3 separate regions of the Homo sapiens genome follow, and all the other regions are linked to region 2. Evidence: promoter capture Hi-C in human tissues and cell types (Jung and others, 2019). All regions are on one chromosome and are shown on one strand. Each heading gives the region's core, a stretch centred on a gene start or on the middle of the fragment in contact. The rest is flanking DNA. Distances are from core to core; before and after follow the strand shown. Region 1 overlaps ZNF414 (zinc finger protein 414). Region 2 holds the start of KANK3 (KN motif and ankyrin repeat domains 3). Region 3 has its middle 8.9 kb from the start of CERS4.

Region 1 (4,141 bases), core at 610-3,109, 160 kb before region 2:
GAATCACTTGAACCTGGGAGGTGGAAGTTGCAGTGAGCTGAGATTGTGCTATTGCACTCCAGTCTGGGCAATACGAGTGGAACTCCATCTCAAAAATAAAGAAAATTAAAAAGCAATCCCGTAACCAGGAGAGGTGACTAATGTCTGCAGTCTCAGTGCTTTAGGAAGCTGAGGCAGGAGGGGCGCCTCAGGCCAGGAGTTCGAGACCAGCTTGGGCAACCTAGCAAGATCGCATCTCTACCTCCCCGCCCACCAAAAAAAATACAAAAAATAATCAGGCATGGCTGGGCATGGTGGCTCATGCTTGTAATCCTAGCACTTTGGGAGGCCGAAGTGGGTGGATCACTTGAGGTCAGGAGTTGGAGACTAGCCTGGCCAACATGGTGAAACCCCATCTCTACTAAAAATATGAAAATTAGTCGGGCATGGTGGTGGGCACCTATAATCCCAGCTACTCGGGAGCCTGAGGCAGGAGAATCGCTTGAACCCGGTGGGATGGAGGTTGCAGTGAGCCGAGATCAAGACCCTGCACTCCAGCCTGGGTGATAGAGTGAAACTCTGTCTTAAAAAAAAAAAAAAAAAAAAATAGCCGTGGTGGCTACCTGGGAGGCTGAGGCAGGAGGATCACGAGCACAGCAGTTCAAGGCTGCAGTGAGCCATCATCACACCATTGCAACCCCAGCCTGGGAGACAAAAAAAGAAAAAATCCCAGGAGCTTCGGGGACAGGCTGGAAGGCTGGTCCTGAGAAAGTGCAGGGACTGGCCAGGATGGCCTGAAGACCCCCAGACCCTGAACCCCATACTGACTTAAGGGGAAGAATCCTTTGGGATTGGGGAGGCAGGCTGGGGACTCAGGTCTTCATCCTCCTTGCTGTCTGCCAGACCAATTTCCACCATGTCCCAGCTCTGAGGAGTGGGGTGGGTCAAGGCCAGCCCTCCATGGCCTGGTCTTTCTCCTCACCCCTGAAGCCAGCCTCCCAGGTATGGAAGTCCCAGGTGATATCCACAGCCATCCCTTGGAAGCTGGTTTTACCTCCATGATCCCTCTCCCTTCTATCCTCATCTCGCCAGCCCCAGGGTCCCCTAGCCCACCCCCTACTCTCCCCAACCTGCCCTTACCCCAAGACTGAAAACAGAAAACAGTCTCTTCTTCCTCTTTTTATTTTATTTATTTTTTTTTTTTTGGAGACAGAGTCTCGCCGGAGTGCAATGGCAGTGCCAGGCTGGAGTGCAATGGTACACTCTCAGCTCTCACTGCAACCTCCGCCTTCTGGGTTCACATGATTCTCCTGCCTCAGCCTCCAAGTAGCTGGGATTACAGGCGCCTGCCACCACCCCGGCTAACTTTTTGTATTTTTAGTAGCGATGAGGTTTCAACATGTTGGTCAGGCTGGTCTCGAACTCCTGACCTCAGGTGATCGACCCACCTTGGCCTCCCAAAGTACTGGGATTACAAGTGTGAGCCACCACGCCCTGCCAGGGTCTCTTCTGATTGTTCCCCTCTCCTGCCCGGCACCCTTCAGTGGCTTCCCATGGCCCTCTGGATGAAGATCCTGTTCTCCCAGTAGCCCACAAGGCCCTACCTTGAACCTCTCGGTCCCCTCCCAGAACAACACTCACTGTCTCCCTCATCCTCCTGGATATACAGACATCCTGTGAGCAAGAACCCAGGGACCTCCTTCACGCAGTCCACCTTGTCTCAATCCTTACCTCCTCCTCCTTTCTCCATTCTCTGAATCCACTTCGGGGTTCCCCCTCACCTCCTCATCCTGGTATCTGCAGCCGAGACACCAGTAACCCCTGGGCGGGGCCCCCAGACCCCACTCCTCCGTCACTGCCCTCCCACCTTCTCCTTGCCCCCCGCCACCCTCCTTGTTGTCTTCCTCAGATTTTTTTTTTTTTTTTTTTTTTGGAAGATGGAGTCTCGCACTGTCACCCAGGCTGGAGTGCAGTGGCACCATCTCAGCTCACTGCAGCCTCCGCCTCCCAGGTTCACACCATTCTCCTGCCTGAGCCTCCCAAGTAGCTGGGATTACAGGTGCCCTCCACCATGCCTGGCTAATTTTTTGTATTTTTAGTAGAGATGGGGTTTCAGCATGTTGGCGAGGCTGGTCTCGAACTCTTGACCTCATGATCCGCCCGCCTCGGCCTCCCAAAGTGCTGGGATTACAGGCGTGATCCACCGCACCTATCTTCCTTGGACTTTTCATCCACCAACGTGTCCACCTCAGGCTCTGAGTCAAAGCCATCCAGGTAGACAAGCCAAGGGCCACCTGCCCCACACCTGCTCAGTGCCATGTCACCTCAAAGATGGACAGCTCTGGGCTCCAGAAGCCCTTCAGCCACTGCAAGGGGCAGGAGGGGATCCTCAGGCCCTTGGGACCCGTCTGTCTGCCCCACTGCCCACCGCCTCACCAGGGGCCTGAAGACTGCTCTGTCCTTGATGGGGCTGTGATGTGACGGGGCAGCAGCCTCAGCTGACGTGGCTTGGGCTGGGTGTCCACTCTCCCAGAACCTGTAGGCCCCAGCTGAGGTGGTTGTCAGGATGGGGTAGGACAGGCCATCAGGAGGCCCCCTAAGCTCCCCCTTCTCAGCCAGAAGCCTTGAAACCACCACTGTGGGACCCTGGAAAAGAGTCGACTTCCCTGCCTCCCAATTCCCTCGTCCTTAAAAGGGTGTCATGATGACTGGTGAGTCCTTTGGGGTGGACGCGAGGATGAAAAGAGAGGCTGCAGGGAGAGGAGGGGCTTGGGAAATGTCTGCTGAGAACTTCACGTCCCGAGCCCATGGCTGCCTGGGACTCTCTCGACCTGGGGAGGAGGGTGGGACAGGGTGAAGGGGCCCATTTTACAGATATATAGAGAAGGTGAGGCTAGGAGGCCTCTAGCCAGCCCCAGTTCCCAGTCAGCGGCACTGATTCTGCACCATCTTGGGAGCTGCGCACGGTTACCACGAGAAGAGAAAACCCTGCCAGCAGGTCCAGAGGACACGCCCCTGTTCCCGCATTCTGCAGGTCCCTAGATCTGGCTGTAGTCCAAGCCTCTCCCCCATCTCCAGGGACAGCGCTGTGTTCTCTGTCCCCCAGGCCCCTAACCCCTCTCCAGGGTCCCGGGGGCCCCCAGGAGTCTTTGTCCCCATCAGTTTCTTTATTCGGCCACCCCCAGATCTAGGCCACGCCTCTTCCCAGTCTGTCAGTATCTTTCCAGAGAAACCTAGAGCCAACACGTCCGTCCAGGGACCTCTCCCCTACCCCATCACCCACGGAGATGGGACAGCCCTTCCTGTGTGTACAGCGGGCCCACGGCCACCACACTACCCTCTGGAGTGAACTGACTGCCGCGAGGCCTGGGGAGCTGGCTCACCACCTGTCCTCCACCGTTCACCCTGTCCACTGCAGAAACGACCTCCTACCCTCAAGCCGGCCCCCAACCCCCATGCACAGGAGCCCAGCCCTCTTGGGCCCCGGCTCCGCCCAGCAGGGGGCGCCCAGGAATCTCAGACTCGGGGGAATGAAAGCCGGGAGAGCAGTGGGGATAGCGGGCAGGTTGGCTGGAAGCCGCGGGCTCGCGCTGAACAGCTCTGAGGCCGGCCAGAGGCCCGTGCCCGGCATTTGTCCAGCCCCAGCTGTCACTTGCAGGTGCCGGTCCGGTTACCCTCATTGCGGGCCAGGAGCGGGGAGGTGGAGGGCGCCCTGCGGCCCTGGGATCCGCCGCCCACGTGCTCCCCGGGCTCCTCCCCCTGCACACCGTTGTTCGCGTTTCCGACCCCGCAGATTCCCCAAGGCGCGCCCTAACGAACTCTCACTCCCCTGGTCCGGGCTCCCTTCTCCGGGATTCCGGTAACCCTATCTGTCCCTGTCTGCAGCCGCGCCGCGCGGAACCCTGCCGGGAGCCCCTACGGAGGCGCCAAATACACAAAGGGTAGTTGGCGGGGAGGCGCACCATGACTACAGCTCCGGGACCTGCGCTTCACCCCCACGGCGCCCCCGTGGGGCCTTGGTGCGCGCGCCCTGGCTGGACCCTCCTAGCTGCGAGAGTGCACGGGTAGTGACCAGCCCAGGCACCTGGGAATCCATCAGCTGTCATCCAATCCTTTAATTACCTTGATTGAGCTCCTTACTGTGGCCAAGCATTGCTTGATT
Region 2 (4,092 bases), core at 674-3,173:
GCCAAGGCAGGTGGATTGCTTGAGCCAAGGAGTTGAAGACCAGCCTGGGCAAAGTAGTAAAAGCCCGTCTCTACTAAAAATAAAAAAAATTAGCTAGGCGTAGCACACACTTGTAATCCCAGCTACTTGGGAGGCTGAGGCAGGAGGATCTCTTTAACCTGGGAGGCGGAGTTTGTAGTGAGCTGAGATATTGTGCCACAGCACTCTACCCTGGGCAACAGAATGAGACCCTGACTCAAAAAAGAAAAAGAAAACATTATTTCAGCAAACATTTATTAAGCATCTACTGTGTACTAGGGTCGCTGGATAAAGCAGTTATCAAAACCAGTTTCCTGTTCCCATGGTGCTGACACTTAATTTAGAGACAGAGTCTCACTCTGTTGCCCAGGCTGGTCTTGAGCTGCTGGGCTCAAAAGATCCTCCCACCTCAGCCTCAGGAGGTGCTAGGATTACAGGCATGAGCCACCCCACCTGGCCTTGGTGCCGACACTTTAGTGAGATGGCAAGCAGGTAAACCAATAAATAACCAGCCAGGCATGGTGGCTCACGCCTGTAATCCCAGCACTTTGGGAGGCTGAGGTGGGCGGATCACCTGAGGTCAGGAGTTCGAGACCAGCCTGGGCAACATGGTGAAACCCTGTCTCTACTAAAAATACAAAAATTAGCTGGGCGTGGTGGTGTGCGCCTGTAATCCCAGCTACTTAGAAGGCTGAGGCAGGAGAATCGCTTGAACCCCAGGAGGCAGAGGTTGCAGTGAGCCAAGATCGCACCACTGCACTCCAGCCTGGGACAGAGCGAGACTCTGTCTAAAAAAAAATTAAATTAAATTAAAAAATAAACCAAATAAATAACTGAGTGTTTCGTTTTTGTCTTTTTGTTTTGTTGTTTTCTTTTGTTTTGAGAACTAGGTCTTGCTATGTTGCCCAGGCTGGTCTCAACTCCTGGCTCAAGCTATCCTCCCATCTATGCCTCCCTAAATACTGGATTTACAGGCGTGAGTCACTGCGCCTGCCAATAACAGAGTCTGCTTTTTTTTTTTTTTCCAGATAGTAAAAGTAGCTATTAGGTTAATACAATAGAGTGATGAGAAAAATACTAACTGGGGAGGGGCTATGTCAGGAATTTAGGGGGCAGCAACACAAAAGCTGAACCTCAGAAAGTAGGGAAGGCCGGGCGCGGTGGCTCACGCCTGTAATCCCAACACTTTGGGAGGCTGAGGCGGGCGGATCACTTGAGGTCAGGAGTTCCAGACCAGCCCGGCCAACATGGTGAAACCCCATCTCTACTAAAAATACAAATATTAGCTGGACGTGGTGGTGTGTGTCTGTAATCCCAGCTACTCGGGAGGCTGAGGCAGGAGAATTGCTTGAACCCAGGAGGCGGAGGTTGCAGTGAGTGTCACTGCACTCCAGCCTGGGACTCCGTCTCAAAAAACAAAAACAAAACAAAACAAAAAACAGTAGGGGAGCCTCAAAAAGTACCTACGTGTACAGGTGCAAGGGAAAGCATTTCAGGTAGGTGGAACAGCATGTGCAGAGGCCCTGCGGTGGGGAAGATCCGGGACCTGATACTTCACCCAGGCACTGCGAAATAAGTGCCAGTTATAGAAATCCCACCGGGTTACTCTTCTACTCATAGTTCTCCCATGGCTCCCTCGTGCCTGTGGATCAAATCCAAGCTCCTTGGCCCGGCGCTGGGCAGAGACTTGACCTCTGCTGGTGCAGAAATGCCGCCAGCCAGCGCTCGGCGACCGTCACTCCAGGGCCCGCCCTCAGTCACCACCCCTACATTCCAGGCCCCGCCTGCCTGTCCCACCCCACCGTCCCACTGGGCGGCTTGGAGAGCCTCGGGTGCTGGTTGGCTGGCGTGGCCGTCAGTTAGGGCGAAGGCCTTGATAATCAGTCCCCGGACTTCGAGGGGGCGGGCTCGGGTGCGGGCGCGGCTGGGGCTGCGGCTTCAGGTAAATTGCCAGCTTGCGGGGACACGGATGGGGGACCCCTGGGTGGGTGGATTCGGGGACGCACCGGGACCCGGCGCTGCGCTGCGTTTCCAGCCCCACTGAGGGCTCTGCCCGCTGCGACGGGGCGGGCGTCGTGTCCTCTGGCCGGGACCCCTCCCACATTGGAAGTCCCAGGTGGGTAGCGAGCAGAGTGGGGGGCTCTGGAGGCGTGGGCTTGCCCCCCTCTCGCCCTTCGGGAGCTCACTGCGGGGCTCGTTCGCTCCCTAATGCCACAACCGGCCCTGGGACCCTTTCCCGGGACGGCCTGGGGACCCCAGCCAGCCCCTCGCGCTGGGCTGGGTGTGGGAGCGTGTCACGGAAATGGTGTTTTGGGGAGGGACGCACGGCCCCCGGACCCGCAGACAATGGGTAGCGGATGGAACCGCCCGGCGGCGCTTCCTGTAGGAAACTGCTCTGTCTCTGTGCGGCTAGGACGACCTGGGGGTGGACGGGTGATGATGACTTTAACACCCACCTTCCTGCCGCCACCGGTCCCCCACCCACCCACCTCAAGAGTCTGAGAGTCCCAGCAGACATCAGGGGCTGCCAGTACTCAGGGCCTCCTGGAAGGCGCCCTCTCCCCAGGACTGGGATCCTCACTGGCCTGCCGTGGCCCCCACCACTCCGGTTTGGTGATCACAGCTCTGCGTCCCAAAATAGTCCCTGGGGCGGGAGAGGGGGCGTGTGGCGTCGGCTCTGACGGCCTAATGAGGGGGTCTCAGGCACAGAATCCGGATCTAGCTGTGACAGTCAGGGCAGGGAGCGGAGGAGAGGGAAGGCAGCTAAACGCCCCACTTAGTGAGGCCCCAGCCCCTGAAGCCGCAGAGGTGGTGGGCACCTCCGCCCCCAATCAGAGTCTGACACAGGTGTAGGCTGGGAGGGACAAGCCCCCTGAGGCTCCTTGGTGGTTCATGCCTGTTATCCCAGCACTTTGGGAGGTCAAGTAGGGCTGATCTCTTGAGGTCAGGAGTTTGAGACCAGACTGACCAACATGATGAAACCCGTCTCTACTAAAAATTCAAAAATTAGCCAGCTGTGGTGGCAAGTGCCTGTAATCCCAGCTACTCAGGATGCTGAGGCAGGAGAGTCGCTTGAACCCTGGGCTCAGAGGTTGCAGTGAGCCGAGATCCTGCCACTGCACTCCAGCCTGGGTGACAGAGACTCCGTCTCAAAAATAAAAATAAAAGAAAGCATTCAAGTGTAGTGGCCAAAGCAAGGACTCTGGAAGACCTGCCTGGGTTTAAAACCTGCCTCTGCCTGTTTATGACAGGACCCAGGCAGGACACTAAACTGTTCTGTGTCTCAGTTTCTCCATCTGTACAATAGGGGAAGGGACAATGATCATAGGAAATCCAACCTCAGTGGATTTAGCTAGGATTTTAAAAAATAAGTCAAGGTCAGGTGCAGTAGCTCATGCTTGTAATCCCAGCACTCTGGGAGGCTGAACTGGGAAGATTGCTTGAGCCCAGGAGTTGGAGGCCAGCCTGGGCAATATAGCAAGACACCTGTATCTACAAAAAATAAAATTAGGCCGGGCACGGCTCACGCCTGGTTTGAGACCAGCCTGGCCAACATGGTGAAACTCCGTCTCTACTAAAAATACAAAAATTAGCCAGGCATGGTGGTGCACACCTGTAATCCCAGCTGCTTGGGAGGCTGAGGCAGGAGAATCACTTGAACCCGGGAGGCGGAGATTGCAGTGAGCTGAGATTGTGCCACTGCACTCCAGCCTGGGCGACAGAGCATGACTCCATCTAAAACAAAAAACCAAAAAATTTAAAATATTAGCCTGAATTAGCCAGGTGTAGAGGTCCATTCCTGTAGTCTCAGCTATTTGTGAGGCTGAGGCGGATCACTTGAGCTCAGGGGTTCAAGGCCACAGTGAGCTATGATCGAGCCACTGACTCCAGCCTGGGTGACAGAGTGAGCGAGACATTGCCTCTAAAAAAAAAAAAAAAAAAAGTAAATATCCATAAATTCCTTAGACTAGAGGCTGGCCCATAGTAAATATCAAAAGCGTTGTTATTATTTGACATTCTGGAGGGATCCATTCCTTTCTTAGCCCAGCCTCTGGATCCAACTGCTTCAGCTAG
Region 3 (4,251 bases), core at 87-2,586, 140 kb after region 2:
AATTTTTTTTGTATTTTTAGTAGAGACGGGGTTTCTCCATGTTGGTCAGGCTGGTGTTGAACTCCCAACCTCAGGTGATCCACCCGCCTCGGCCTCCCAAAGTGTTGGGATTACAGGCAGGAGCAACCGCGCCTGGCCGATATATGGTCTTTTATCCCTCACCTCCCTCCCCACCCTTTCCCTCTGAATTCCTGTTTTCTTTCTTTCCTTCTTTTTGTCCTTCCTTCCTGCCTTCCTTCCCTCTCTATCTCCCTCTTTCTTGCTTGCTTTTTTTTTTTTTTTGAGACGGAGTCTCACTCTGTCGCCAGGCTGGAGTGCAGTGGCGTGATCTCGGCTCACTGCAAGCTCTGCCTCCCAGGTTCACGCCATTCTCCTGCCTCAGCCTCCCGAGTAGCTGGGACTACAGGCGTCCACCACCACGCCCAGCTAATTGTTTGTATTTTTAGTAGAGACGGAGTTTCACTGTGTTAGCCAGGATGGTCTCGATCTCCTGACCTTGTGATCCACCCACCTCCGCCTCCCAAAGTGCTGGGATTACTGGTGTGAGCCGCCGCGCCCGGCCTCTTTTTTTGAGACAGGATCTCCCTCTGTCACCCAGGCTGGAGGGCAGTGGCACAATCATAGCTCACAGAAGCCTCCACAACTCCTGGGCTCAAGTGATCCTCCTGCCTCAGCCTCTAGAATAGCTGGGACTACAGGCATGCACCACTACACCTAGCTCATTTATGTATTTATTTATTTTCTGTAGAGATGGGGGTCTCCTTCCTGCCTTTTTCTTTCTTGGGAAACTGAGTGTTTTACTTTGTGTTGCTTGGTAACAGCTTTAGAGATATAATTTTCATACCATCCAGTTTGCCTATTTCAAGTTTTCAAGTCGAAGGTTTTTGATCCATTCACAGAGTTCAGCAGTTCTCACCATCTTGTTCTTCTTTTATTTGACAAATATTAATTGTATATACTTACCAGGTACAGTGTGATCTTTTGATATATGCATACTTTGGGAACCACTTTGCTCTTTTTCTGTTTCGTTTTGTTTTTCTTTTTCTTTTCTTTCAGAGATAGGGTCTCATTCTTTCGCCCAGGCTGGAGTGCAGTGGTGTGATCATAGCTCACTGCAGCCTCGACCTCCTGGGCTCAAGTGATCCTCCCACCTCAGCCTCCTGGGTAGCTGGGACTACAGTGTGCACTATCATGGCCAGCTAATTTTTTAAAGTTTTGTAGAGATGGGGTCTCACTGTGTTGCCCAGGCTGGTCTCAAACCTGTGGCCTCAAGTGAGCCTCCCACTTTGGCCTCCCAAAGTGCTGTGATTACAGGTGGGAGGCAGTGCACCTGTCCCCATATTGTTCTTTTTAGCGGCTACATAGGATGCCACGGTTGAGCCAGACTTTGCTTATCAGTTTCCTATTGATGGACTAGGCGATTTTCGTTGTTTGTTGTTGTTGTTTGGTTGCATTTTTGGAGACAGAGTCTTGCTCTTGTCACCCAGGCTGGAGTGCAGTGGCACGATCTCGGCTCACTGCAACCTCTGCCTCCCCAGTTCAAGTAATTCTCCCGACTCAGCCTCCCCAGTAGGTGGGATCATAGGTGCCTGCCACCAAGCCCGGCTAATTATTGTGGTTTTAGTAGAGACGGGGTTTTGCCATGTTGGTCAGGCTGGTCTCGAACTCCTGACCTCAGATGGTCTGTCCGCCTCAGCCTCCCAAAATGCTGGGATTACAGACCTGAGCCACCACGCCTGGTCTAGGCGGTTGTTTTTGATCCAAGCAACGATGAATTGAATAACCTGCCGTAGAGGTCATATGTCAACCCAGCATGAAGAGATCTCATCAGTAAATTCCTAGAAGTGGAATTACTTGTCAAAGGGTGTGAGCAGGTGTATCGTGGATAACTATTGCCAAAGGTTTCTCCACAAAGGACTCATCCTCCACATGTTATCAAACATTCTAATCTTTGCTAACTGAGAGGTTTAAAAGTATGTAGTTCTCATTTGCATTTTTATTTTTTATTTTATTTATTTATTTATTTTTTTGAGACGAAGTCTCTCTCTTGTCCCCCAGGCTGGGGTGCAATGGCGTGATCTCGGCTCGCTGCAACCTCCACCTGCCTGGTTCAAGCGATTCTCCTGCCTCAGCCTCCCAAGTAGCTGGCACCACAGGCGCCTGCCACCATGCCCGGATAATTTTTATATTTTTAGTAGAGACGGGGTTTCACCATGTTGGCCAGGATGGTCTTGAACTCCTGACCTCAGGTGATCTGCCCACCTCGGTCTTCCAAACTGCTGGGATTACAGGCATGAGCCACCGCGCCTGGCCTGCATTTTTATTATTTCGAGTGAGGTTGAACATCTCTGTGTTTAAAAACTGGATCTCAGAGCCAGGCACGGTGGCTCATGCCTGTAATTCCAGCACTTTGGGAGGTCAAGGCCAGAGGATGGCTTAAGGTCAGGAGTTTGAGATGAGCCTGGGAAATAGTTAGGTTCTGTCTTTCTTTTTTTTGGAGACGGAGTCTCGCACTCTCGTCCAGGCTGCTGGAGAGCAGTGGCGCGATCTCAGCTCACTGCAAGCTCCGCCTCCCAGGTTCACGCCATTCTCCTGCCTCAGCGTCCCGAGTAGCTGGGACTACAGGCGCCTGCCACCACACCCAGCTACTTTTTTGTATTTTTTTTTTTTAGTAGAGACGGGGTTTCACCGTGTTAGCCAAGATGGTCTCGATCTCCTGACCTTGTGATCCACCTGCCTCAGCCTCCCAAAGCGCTGGGATTACAGGTGTGAGCCACTGTGCCCAGCCTGGTTCTGTCTTTCTATATACACATTTGTAAGTGGATCTTGTCCAGACGTGGTGGCTCATGCCTGTAGTCTCAGCTACTCAGGAGGCTCAGGGAGGACGATCACTTGAGTCAGGAGTTTGCAGCTGCAGTGAGCTATGATTGCACCAGTGCCCTCTAGACTGGGCAACAGAGCAAGACACTGTCTCTAAAGTAAAACTTTTTTTTTTTTTTGAGATGGAGTCTTGCTCTGTCACCCAGGCTGGAGTGCAATGGTGTGATCTCAGTTTACTGCAACCTCCACCTGCCGGGTTCAAGAGATTCTCCTGCCTCAGCCTCCCAAGTAGCTGGGATTACGGGTGCCCGCCACCATGCTTAGCTAATTTTTTCTATTTTTAGTAGAGACAGGGATTTACCATGTTGGCCAGGCTAGTCTCGAACTCCTGACCTCGGGTGATTCACCCGCCTCAGCCTCCCATGAGCCACCATGTCTGGCCTTTAAAATAAAACATTTTTAAACGTGGACCTCTAGTCTTTCCCTGGAAACGTTTTTTTTTTGTTTGTTTGTTTGTTTTTCTGCAGGCGACAGCCTTTTTGTTATTGATTTATAGAGCCTCTTTACTTTTACTGTGGTAAAATATATATAGAAGCTCTTTTTAGTATTAAAGAAATTACTTCTTATTCTGTGAGCTTCAATCTTCTTCCTCCATTTTTTTTTTTTGTTGTTGTTGTTTTTTGAGATGGAGTCTTGCTCTGTCACCCAGGCTGGAGTGCAGTGGTGTGATCTTGGCTCATTGCAGCCTCTGCCTCCTGGATTCAAGAGATTCTCCTGCTTCAGCCTCCCGAGTAGCTGAGATTATAGGCGTGCACCACCATGCCCAGCTAATTTTTGCATTTTTAGTAGAGACAGAGTTCACCATTTTGGTCAGGGTGGTTTCGAACTCCTGACCTCAGGTGATCCACCTGCCTCAGCCTCCCAAAGTGCTGGGATTACAGGCTTGGGCCACCATGCCCAGCCCTTTGGTGACTTTTATGTTTATTTTATTCTTAGAAAGGCCTTTCCTGTGCATTCAGTTGTACATCAGCCCCCGACCTACCCCAAAAAAAGCCTTTGCGGCTAAGCCCCATGGCTCATACCTGTAATCCCAGCACTCTGGGAGGCTGTGGGAGCATTGCTTGAGACCAGGAGTTCAATGCTGGAGTGAGCTGTGAGCTGTGATTGTACCACTGCACTCCAGCCTGGGTGACAGAGTGAGACTCTTGTCTGAAGAAAAATAAAAATTAAAAATAATTTGAGGCCGGGTGCGGTGGCTCATGCCTGTAATCCCAGCACTTTGGGAAGCTGAGGCGGGTGGATCACGAGTTCAGGAGATCGAGACCATCCTTGCTAACATGTTGAAACCCCATTTCTACTAAAAATACAAAAAAATTAGCCAGGTGTGGTGGCAGGCGCGCCTGTAGTCCCAGCTACTTGGGAGGCTGAGGC

What was found. The method cuts DNA at HindIII sites, captures the fragments that hold promoters and counts their contacts. A contact is called where the count stands out against the background at its distance.
Region 1: a contact is called between a fragment that was not itself captured here and the fragment with the promoter of KANK3 in region 2, in 1 of the 25 tissues and cell types used here (spleen).
Region 3: a contact is called between a fragment that was not itself captured here and the fragment with the promoter of KANK3 in region 2, in 1 of the 25 tissues and cell types used here (pancreas).

What each region holds. Positions count from the first base shown.
Region 1 is chr19:8,505,653-8,509,793 of GRCh38, reverse strand. It overlaps ZNF414 (zinc finger protein 414), which reads left to right. Exons shown (of 8, transcript NM_001146175.2): 8 at 1-116. Among named protein-coding and RNA genes, the nearest start is that of PRAM1, 5.1 kb to the right of the region's middle. RefSeq lists enhancers at 2,863-3,449, 3,489-3,989 and silencers at 3,533-3,792, 3,903-4,002, 4,023-4,072. The HindIII fragment of the contact is 8,917 bases long and covers 1-4,141 here.
Region 2 is chr19:8,341,093-8,345,184 of GRCh38, reverse strand. It overlaps KANK3 (KN motif and ankyrin repeat domains 3), which reads left to right and starts at 1,923. Exons shown (of 11, transcript NM_198471.3): 1 at 1,923-1,960. RefSeq lists an enhancer at 1,689-2,480. The HindIII fragment of the contact is 26,102 bases long and covers 1-4,092 here.
Region 3 is chr19:8,198,300-8,202,550 of GRCh38, reverse strand. No RefSeq gene overlaps it. Among named protein-coding and RNA genes, the nearest start is that of CERS4, 8.9 kb to the left of the region's middle. The HindIII fragment of the contact is 7,247 bases long and covers 1-4,251 here.